2 separate regions of the Homo sapiens genome follow, and region 1 is linked to region 2. Evidence: promoter capture Hi-C in 16 types of primary human blood cells and fetal thymus (Javierre and others, 2016). All regions are on one chromosome and are shown on one strand. The core of a region is centred on a gene start or on the middle of the fragment in contact, and the rest is flanking DNA. Distances in the headings are between cores, read along the strand shown.

Region 1 (5,437 bases), core at 2,385-4,884, 56 kb before region 2:
ATTTTACAAGATGAGTATTACCCTAATACCAAAGCCAGATAAGGACACTACCAAAAAAAAAAAAAAAATCACAGGCCAATACCCATAATAAACATAGATGCAAAAATCCTCAACAAAATACTAGCAAACCAAATTCAACAGCACATTAAAAAAAAAGCAAAAAAAAAAAAATCAATCAAAAAAATTTAGCATCCTTTCATGATAAAAAAAAACTCTCAACAAATTGGGTATAGAAGAATTCTACTACTGAGCCATTAAAAGGAATGAAATAATGTTAATAATAAGTGAGAAAATATTTTTTTTGGTTTTCTACTCCTGTGTTGCTTAGAATAATTGCCTCCAGCTCCATCCAAGTTGCTGTGGAATATTTGAGAAAATATTTGCGAACCTATATCTGAAAATAGATTAATATCCAAAATATGTAAGAACCATGCAATTCAATAGCAAAATGAAAACAAAAACAAAACAAATAACCTGATTTTAAAATGGGCTAAGGACCTCAACATTTTCCAAAGAAGACATAAAAATGGCAAACAGGCATGAGAAAACATGCACAATATCACTAATCATCAGAGAAATTCAAATCAGAATAATCACATCACCTTATACCTGTTAGGGTGACTATTATCAAAAAGACAAAAGATAACAAAGTATGGATGAGGATGTAGAGAAAAGAGAATCCTTTGTGTTTGCAGAATGTAAATTTGCACAACCATTATGGAAGACAGTGTGGTGGTTCTTCAAAAAATTATAAATGGAACTGCAATATGATCCAACAATCTTAATTCTGGGTACATATCCAAAGGAAGCAAAAGCAGTGTTTCAAAGAAATATATGTACTCCCGAATGGGCACGGTGGCTCACGCCTGTAATCGCAGCACTTTGGGAGGCTGAGGTGGGTGGATCACCTGAGGTCAGGAGTTTAAGACCAGCCTGATCAACATGTTGAAACCCTGTCTCTACTAAAAAAAAATAGAAAAGTTAGCCGGTGTGGTGGCAGATACCTGTAATCCCAGCTACTCTGGAGGCTGAGGCAGGAAAATCACTTGGACCCGGGAGGTGGAGTTTCCAGTGAGCTGAGATTGCACCATTGCACTCCAGCTTGGGCGACAAGAGAGAAACTCTGTCTCAAAAACAAACAAACAAACAAACAAACAAACAAAAATATATATTATATAAAATATGTACTCCCATGTTCATTGCAGCATTATTCACAATATCAAAGACATAGAAACAACCTACATATCTGTTGATGGATGAAGGGATAAAAATTGTGATTTATATACACACACACATATATGTGTGTGTGTGTATATATATATTTATATTTATATAATAGAATAGTATTCAGCCATAAAAAAGAAGGAAATAGTGCCCTTTGAGACAGCATGGATGAACCTGAAGAATATCATGCTAAATGAAATAAGTCACAGACAAATACTATGATCTCATTTATATGTAGATTCTAAAAATTATCAAATACATGGAAACAGAGAGTAGAATGGTGGTTTCCACATAAGTTTTATATAAATATGTGAGAGAGAGAAAGAGATTTATTCCAAGGAGTTGATTCATGCCCTTATGGAGGCTAAGAAGTCCCACAGTCTACTGTCTGCATGCAGTAAAAGTCAGTGGAGTGATTCAGGCCAAACTGAAAGCCCAAGAACCAGGGGAGCCGATGGTGTAAATCTCAGTTTGAGGGCTGGAGAAGATAAGATGTCCTAGCTCAAACAGGCTGGCAGGAAGCAAAAAAAGGGTGAATTCCCCCTTCCTTCACCATTTTATTCTATTCAGGGTCTCAATAGATTGATTGATGCACACCTACATTGGAGACGGCATTCTACTTTCCAGAGTCCACCAATTAAAATGCTAATCCTATCTGGAAACACCCTCACAGATACATCGAGAAATAGTGTTTAATCTGGGCACTCAGGTGCCAGTCAAGTTGACACAGAAAATTAACCATCACAGAGGTACAATGCAAATAGTGGCTCATTAAGTCATGACATCCTTAGCTAGGCTGACAGTATTCTCTAATAGTTCTCAGAAGAACTGTGATAGGCAACACTTCTCACATGTAGCAACTGCCCTGGCAGGGCAGAAATTCACATTTGATGTATAGCTCTCTGGTTTTCCTCCTTGGTTAGGAAACTCTCATGGAATCTATCTTAGGAGAAAAATCATAGTTTGGAAACCACTATGCCAAAGATCCCCTCATGTGCTGGGTTCTCCAATACTGCCTGCTTCAATTTCAGACTTACAACTTTTACTTCCGTTTTTAAATTTTTTTATTTCAATTTTTGTAGGTACATAGTAGGTGTATATATTTATGGGGCTCATGAAATGTTTTGATACAGGCATGCAATGCGTAATAATCACATCATAGAGAAGGGGGTATTCATCCTGTCAAGCATTTATCCTTTACGTTACAAACAATCCAGTTATACTATTAGTTATTTAAAATGTACAATTAAATTATTATTGACTATAGTCACCCTGTTATGCTACCAATAGTAGGTCTTATTCATTCTTTCCAATATTTTGTACCCATTAACCCTCCGCATCTCCTTCCCACCACTAGCCTTCCCAGCCCCCAGTAACCATCTTTTCATTCTCTATCTCTATGAATTCAATTGTTTTGATTTTTAGATCCCACAAATAAGTGAGAACATGCAATGTATGTCTTTCTGTGCCTGGCTTATTTCACTTAACATAATTATCTCCAGTTCCATCCATTTTGTCACAACTGACAGGATTTCATTCTTTTATATGGCTGAATAGTACTCCATTGTGTATATGTACATTTGCTGTGTTCATTTATCTGTTGATAGACACTTAGCTTGCTTCCAAATCTTGGTTATTGTAAACAGTGCTGCAACAAACATGGGAGTGCAGATATCTCTTCAATATACTGGTCTTCTTTCTTTTGGGTATATAGCCAGCAGTGGGATTGCTGGATCATATGGTAGCTCTATGTTTAGTTTTTTGAGGAAGCTCCAAACTGTTCTCCATAGTGATTGTACTAATTTACATTCCCACCAACAGTGTACAAGGCTTCCCTTTTCTCTACATCCGTGCCAGCATTTGTTATTGCCTGTGTTTTGAATAAAGCCATTTTTAGCTGAGATGAGAGGATATCTCATTGTAGCTTTGATTTCCATTTATCTGATGATCAATGATGTTAAGCACCTTTTCAAGCACTTTTTCATATGCCTGCTTCCCATTTGGATGTCTTCTTTTACTTCCATTTTTATATGTTGTATGTGTTTGCATGATCAAATCTACTTTATCAGGAAACATAAAACATAAAGTGAAACGGAAAAAAAAGGAAAGATTATAGGAAACAGTCATTTGCCTAATATATCTTCACTGCACGGAAGGCAAATAATAGATATGAAACCCGAAGGTTTAGGACAGGAGACAAAGGAAAGTTATTGCCTTATTCTCCCTAACCACATCCTTCAAGTCTTCTTCCTTATTTATTACATCACATGGACAAATACACTTGACCACACCTCCTGACATTGCTCAATATTTGCTTGAGTGAAAAGAGGCTGAGGCAACCTGAAGGAGGAGCTCTCATTACCTTCTGCCCATCACTTAATAAATAGCCAGCCAATTCATCAACATTCTGGTACACTGTTGGAGAGATGAGACAGTCACACCAGCTGCCCCTAGTGGGGCTCTTACTGTTTTCTTTTATTCCAAGCCAACTATGCGAGATTTGTGGTGAGTAAACTTTGAGCTAAAATTACTCTAGAGTGATAGTCTACTGAAAACTGTTGACAAGAGACTCTATGTAGAGTTACCTGAGAAAAGATCCCATTCCAGTTTCGTATGTGGTTGGACTCCATGAATGATGAAAAGGGTGGCAGGAGATGGTGAGGAAAGTCTCACAATGCATGTTGTTGTAAGAGGAATTATAGATTGTGTATTCACTTGCCTAACTGCTCTTTCTATGCTCAGATCCTCTCTAGCACAGCATCCCTACCAAGTAACTCCCTATTCATGTGACTTTTCAATGACAGAAAATTTATGCTCCCAGAAACTTTTCTAGATCATGGAAAGTTATCTTTTGGTCTTGATATGCAATCTTTTTTCCCTGAAATTCAATGCATGATTTTTGGGTTAACCCCTTGTAACTACATAGAAAAAAATAATAATCTCTTTCAAATAGTGATGACTGCTGTCTTGTCATGAGTGAGTTTAGATGTTCCAAGTTGCATGTCCACCTTCCTTCAACTCTTTCCCAGGACACATGGGATAAAGTTCCATCATCTCTTGCATGGGTGTTGACCCCAGAGATTGTGTGGTTCTGTAAAAGAACTTTAAAGTAAGAGAAGGGAAAACTAAATTCAGGTTTAGTTTGATCCCTTAGTTATTGAATGACCCAACATTTCTGAATTTCTTTAGCTTCATTCATAAATAAAGGATAATGAGGGGAGACTATTGAAGCAAATTATCTCATGAAGTCTGGTGCAGTTCTCAAGTGCATGAATTCTCTTTTGTGAGACTTTACTCTGAAATTGAGCTTCAAACCAGTCCAAAGATTACTAGGTGGTACTATCTGTGCTCTCTAACCAGTAAGAAGAGAACACCACAGAAGACAGGCTTGTATACATACAGGCTAAAGCATAGACTCTTCTGACTCTGATTTTTCTTCTTGGCTTGACATTTCCCCTGTTGGATCCTAAGAATAGGGAATGGCTATGTAGGTTTTAGCTTTCAATTCATTTTAAATAATAATGATAATAATTAAATTTATCTTTGAGACTCAAGGAAGCTGATTTGAGTTGTTGATCAGGAACTAAAAAGTCTGTTTCAGGGCCAGAAAATCTGCTGAGCTGGATGGTTCCACAAAATCTCAGAGAACTGACTCACAATTGTTCCATTGTGTCTGCAACAAACCATGACCTTTCTACAATCACTCTATTCAGATCTTCTTGACTCATTCTTTTAAAGTAAAGAAAACTGGGCAAGAGAAATTACATTTCCTTGATTCTCAAGTATAGTGATAAAAACTCCAGTTGAGCTGGAAATAATAGTATGTGCAGCATTTTACAGTTTATTCGGTGGTTTCTTGTCCAATATCTGTAAGGTAAGTGTTAACAGCCACAATTTTTAAATGAGAAAACTAAGAGTAAAACAAGTTACATAAGTTATTATCCACAGTCATAAGTTAAGGAGCACAAAATGTGGCCAAAATCTGAATCCAAACCTCATGTTCTTCTCACTCTCCCACTAATCCATTAGATAATCTGGAGATATGTAGGATTTGGGGCTACTCCTCAAGATTATGGAAAAATACATTGACAAAGTGTCCTGTGTTTAAATAAATAGTAAATCTTTTTATTCTCCTCTATTTCCTTGGGAGCTATGGATTTTCCTACTTCCACAGTATAATGTGACTTCCCTCCATCTCTGGAATTGGGGCATA
Region 2 (4,824 bases), core at 2,307-4,806:
GTGCAAGAAAGAATTTGGGGGTGAGTCCACAGAGCAAAGTGAAAGTAAGTTTATTAAGAATGTAAATAAAAAAGAAAGAATAGCTACTCCATAGACAGAGCACTCCCAAAAGCAAGAGGAGAAACACATCTGCCTTTGGTATAATACTCGTTTATATACAAGATAACAAAGCAAAAAAAATCAGGGGAGGATGTGTTCTACTACAAGTGCTTGTGACAAAGGATTGTTAATCTTTGTGTAACTACTGTCTTTTGCAAGCATCTATATTATTAAATTGAAAGTGAAACTTATTCTTTTTTTTTTTTTTTTTTTTTTTTTTGTGAGACGGAGTTTCGCTCTTGTCACCCAGGCTGGAGTACAATGGCACGATCTCAGCTCACTGCAACATCCACCTCCTAATTCAAGTGATTCTCCTGCCTCAGCCTCCTGAGTAGCTAGGATTACAGGTACCCACCATCACGCCCAGCTAATTTTTGTATTTTTTAATAGAGACAGGGTTTCACCATGTTGGCCAGGCTGGTCTCGAACTCCCGTCCTCAGGTGATCCACCGTCCTCGGCCTCCCAAAGTGCTGGGATTACAGGCGTGAGCCACCACATCCATCTGTGAAACTTATCCTTACACTAAGAATGCTTTTGTTATTAAGATATTGGGACATCAAGACATTTCCTGGGTCTGTTAAGTCCTGAGCCTGTTCAGTAAACATCATTTTGTTTTTTTGAGGTGGGGTCTTGCTTTGTTGCCCAGGCTGTAGTGCAGTTGTGCTATCACAGCTCACTGCAACCTCTGCCTCCCTGGCTGAAACTATCCTCCCACCTCAGCCTCCCAAGTAGCTGGGACTATGGGCATGCACCACCAAGCCTGGCCCTGGTAAACATTATTAACTGTTCCCTTAACCATAAATATCCTGTGACTAGGAATGCCTAATCTCCTGGCAATGCAGCCTAGTAGACCTCAGCCTCATTTTACCCAGCCTTTATTCCAGATGGAGTCACTCTGGTTCAAATGCCTCTGACAGTTTTACACTTTCAGGTCTTATATTTAAATCTTTAACCTATTTTAAGTTGTATGTGGTATGAGACAAGGGTCCAATTTCAATCTGCAAGTGAATACCCGGTTTTCCCAACGTCATTTGTTGAAGAGACTATCATTCCCCCATTATGTTTTCTTGGCACCTTTGCCAAAAATCAATGGACTGCGCCAGGCGTCGTGGCTCATGCCCGTAGTCCCAGCACTGTGGGAGGCCAAGGTGGGTGGATCACCTGAGGAGTTTGAGACTAGCCTGGCCAACATGGCAAAACCCCTTCTCTACTAAAAATAGAAAAAATTAGCCAGGCGTGGTGGCACACCCCTGTACTAGAGAGGCTGAGGCGGAAGAATCTAGTAACACCCAGTTACTAGAGAGGCTGAGGCGGAAGAATCGCTTGAACCCAGCAGGCGGAAGTGGCAGTGAGCCGAGATCGCACCACTGTACTCCAGCCTGGGCGACAGAGTGAGACTATGTCTCAAGAAAAAAAAAAACAAATCAATGAAGTATAAATGTGTGTGTTTATTTCTGGGCTCTCTATCCTATTCATTTGGTCAGTGTGTCTATTTCTCTGCCATACCGTGCTGTTTCGATTACAATCAACTTATGTTTTGAAGTCAGGGAGTGTGATGCCTCCAGCTTTGTTCTTTTTGTTCCAGATTGTCTGGGCTATTCAGGGTCTTTTGTGGTTCCAAATGAATTTAAGGGTTGTTTTTCCTATTTCTGTGAAAAATGGCATTGGAATTTTGATAGGGATTGCACTGGATCCGTAGATTGCACTTTTTGGCTCTTTTGAAATAAACAATAAGGTAGAAGTTTTGGGGTACCAAAAGACTTAGAGACCAATCAAACCGTGATTTTAGTGCCACTTCATTTTTCACTCAAAACAATATTGCACAATATTCAACTTGAGGACTAAGCTCTGATTTTTTATCTTGCCCAAATTCCTACCTAAGGGAATCATGCCCTACAAACCATAAATTCTCATCATATAGGTTTTATTTTACCCTATATATTGTGACTTACTTTTCAACATGACTCTGGCATAACATTATGAGACAAAGAAAAAAATATTTAACCCCAAAATATATTTCTTTGCCATATCTTGAAATTGCCCTGCAAAGTCTCTTGCGGGAAAAATCCATTTCTATAGGTATTCTCTTTCCCCTTTGTTTTCCTTCCTTCCTTCCCAGATCCAGGAGACAATCAACTAAGAGCCAGGCATATTTTTTTTTCTCTGTCTTGCCCAGTCTGGAGTCTGGAGTGCAGTGGCGTGATCTCGGCTCACTGCAACCTCCGCCTCCTAGGTTCAAGTGATTCTCCTGCCTCAGCTTCCCGAGTAGCTGGGATTACAGGCACCCGCCACCACGTCCAGCTAATTTTTTGTATTTTTAGTGGAGACGGGGTTTCACCATGTTGGTCAGGCTGGTCTTGAACTCCTGACCTCAGGTAATCTGCCCGCTTTGGCCTCCCAAAGTGCTGGGATTACAGGCGTGAACCACTGCGCCCGGCCTCCAGGCACCCTTTAAGTCAGATAAAAAAACAATTTACAACAGTCTTTCTCTAAAGTCTGCTATCTAAGAGCTTCCTCTGCATAATAAAACTTGGTCTCTACAATCATTTATGTTTAACCTGAACATTCCTTTCTATCCATCCCAGGTCTTTGGACAAACTCAACCAATTGTCAACCAGAAAATGTTTACATTTACCTATAGCCTAGAAGCCCACCTTGACTTGTCCCGCCTTTCTGAACCAAACCAATGTATTTCTTAAATGCATTTGATTGATGTCTCATGCCCCTCTAATATGTATAAAGCCAAGCTGCACTTCTACCACCTTGGGCACATGTTCTCAGGACCCCCTGAGGGCTGTGTCACAGGCCATGGTTGCTCATATTTGGCTCAGAATAAATCTCTTCCAATATCTTACAGAATTTCACTCTTTTCATCAACAATATTGTTCATTCACTGAGATCTCTGGAATCACAGACTGTGCTCAAATTCTGATGGTACTGTTTTCCTGTTGTATGACCCAGAACAAGTTAAATTATTTCACCCTCAGGATGGAATCTGCAAAATAAGTATAATGACTTATCTCACAGATTCGTTGGCAGGACTAACGAATGAGGTACTCAATGACACATTGCAATTGCCCTATACATGTTAAACCATTGCTAAATCTGGTATTCTCCTAATGTCTTTGAGGGGTCCCCTAGAAAATCATCTCAAAGGCTGTGAATCGTAAGGGACCACCTTGCTAAGCAACCGGCAGGCACTAACAGTTGTACTCCGCAGAAAAATAAATAAATAAAACAAAAGACTCCCCGCCCCGCCGCCCTCTTCTTCTGGGGAAAGACTGGAGATTGGAAGGAGAACCCTAGAGAGCCAACAGGGCCCCTGGGCGTGGCTGGGCGGACGGCGCCTTTGACCGCAGGAACTCAACCTCCCCCGGAACTCAACCCCCGTCGCTCGAGTTTCTTTCGCTTCCGTCGGGACTCTGCGGAGTGGACCCGAGTGAACACAACTTCCGGCCCCACTGAGCGGTGTCCTGAGCCGATTACAGCTAGGTAGTGGAGCGCCGCTGCTTACCTGGGTGCAGGAGACAGCCGGAGTCGCTGGGGGAGCTCCGCGCCGCCGGACGCCCGTGACCATGTGGAGGCTGCTGGCTCGCGCTAGTGCGCCGCTCCTGCGGGTGCCCTTGTCAGGTCAGAAGTCCCTTTTGGTTCCTAAAGACTTTACCCCTCTTCCTCCCCCACCCTCCAGTGCTTTTTCTCCCTAACCCAAAAGGCGGCTCTGCATATGCTTGGTGAAGCACTGGTTAGGAACTACGCTATCGCACCGCCGACCTCCACCGTAGGGGTTCGTGCAAGAGGGTCACAGCTGCGTCTGGGAGTCGGCGCCCAGAGATCCCGGCTGGCCTTTTGCGGAGCCTGAGCCTTTGAGTCCATTTAGTGGAATCCGCATCCCACACCTCAAGACTCCTCCGGCGGAAGTACTTTTGGGCGGGCGCGGTGGCTCACGCCTTTAATAGCAGCACTTTGGGAGGCCGAGGCGGGCGAATCACTTGAGGTCAGTAGTTTGAAACCAGCCTGGCCAACATGGTGAAACCCTGTCTCTACTGAAAATACAAAAAAAATTAGCTGGGCGTGGTGGTGGGCGACTGTAATCCCAGCTAGTCCGGAGGCTGAGGCAGGAGAATCTCTTGAACCCGGGAGGCGGAGGTTGCAGTGAGCCGAGATCGCGCCACTGCACTGGATCCTGGGCGACAGAGTAAGACTCCGTCTCAAAAAAATAAAATAAATAAAAATAAGAAGTAGTACCTTTGGCCCAGGTTGTATCGGGGTCCCGGCCTGTTACCTTCGTCGTTTAACTTGATTTGTCTTTGTAGATTCCTGGGCACTCCTCCCCGCCAGTGCTGGCGTAAAGACACTGCTCCCAGTACCAAGTTTTGAAGGTGAGAGCTTGTCTTTCTCCTGTTCGTAAATCTTTTCTCTGATGGAAACCAGGAGCGGGTGGGAGATGACATAGGAATGTTCTCGTGTTTCCCATCCCCGTTCACTCTTTCAATAAATATGTTTTTAGAGCTTACAGTTTTGCCAACTAATATTCTGAGCACTAGAAATAAATCAAAGACAAAGGAAACCAAAAAAGTTCCTTGCTCTTACGGAGCAGCGTCTAATGAGATAGCTCCCCTAAAACCTCCCACTGGTGTGTGTCCCATGGTCCACTCAGCCAGTAGTCATTGGCCTGAAATCTGGATTTTTGAGCGGGCATGGTGGCTCACGCCTGTAATCACAGC

Evidence for each region. Contacts are between HindIII fragments. The CHiCAGO score rates a contact against its expected background, and 5 or more counts as called.
Region 1: the fragment with the promoter of TCN1 here is called in contact with the fragment with the promoter of MRPL16 in region 2 in 1 of 17 cell types (neutrophils); the score reaches 14.2 in neutrophils.

The regions. Positions count from the first base shown.
Region 1 is chr11:59,864,684-59,870,120 of GRCh38, reverse strand. It overlaps TCN1 (transcobalamin 1), which reads left to right and starts at 3,634. Exons shown (of 9, transcript NM_001062.4): 1 at 3,634-3,729. The coding sequence starts at 3,651. The HindIII fragment of the contact is 12,351 bases long and covers 1-5,437 here.
Region 2 is chr11:59,809,510-59,814,333 of GRCh38, reverse strand. MRPL16 (mitochondrial ribosomal protein L16) reads left to right here and starts at 3,556. Exons shown (of 4, transcript NM_017840.4): 1 at 3,556-3,730; 2 at 4,414-4,479. The coding sequence starts at 3,676. RefSeq lists an enhancer at 3,343-3,562. The HindIII fragment of the contact is 7,606 bases long and covers 1-4,824 here.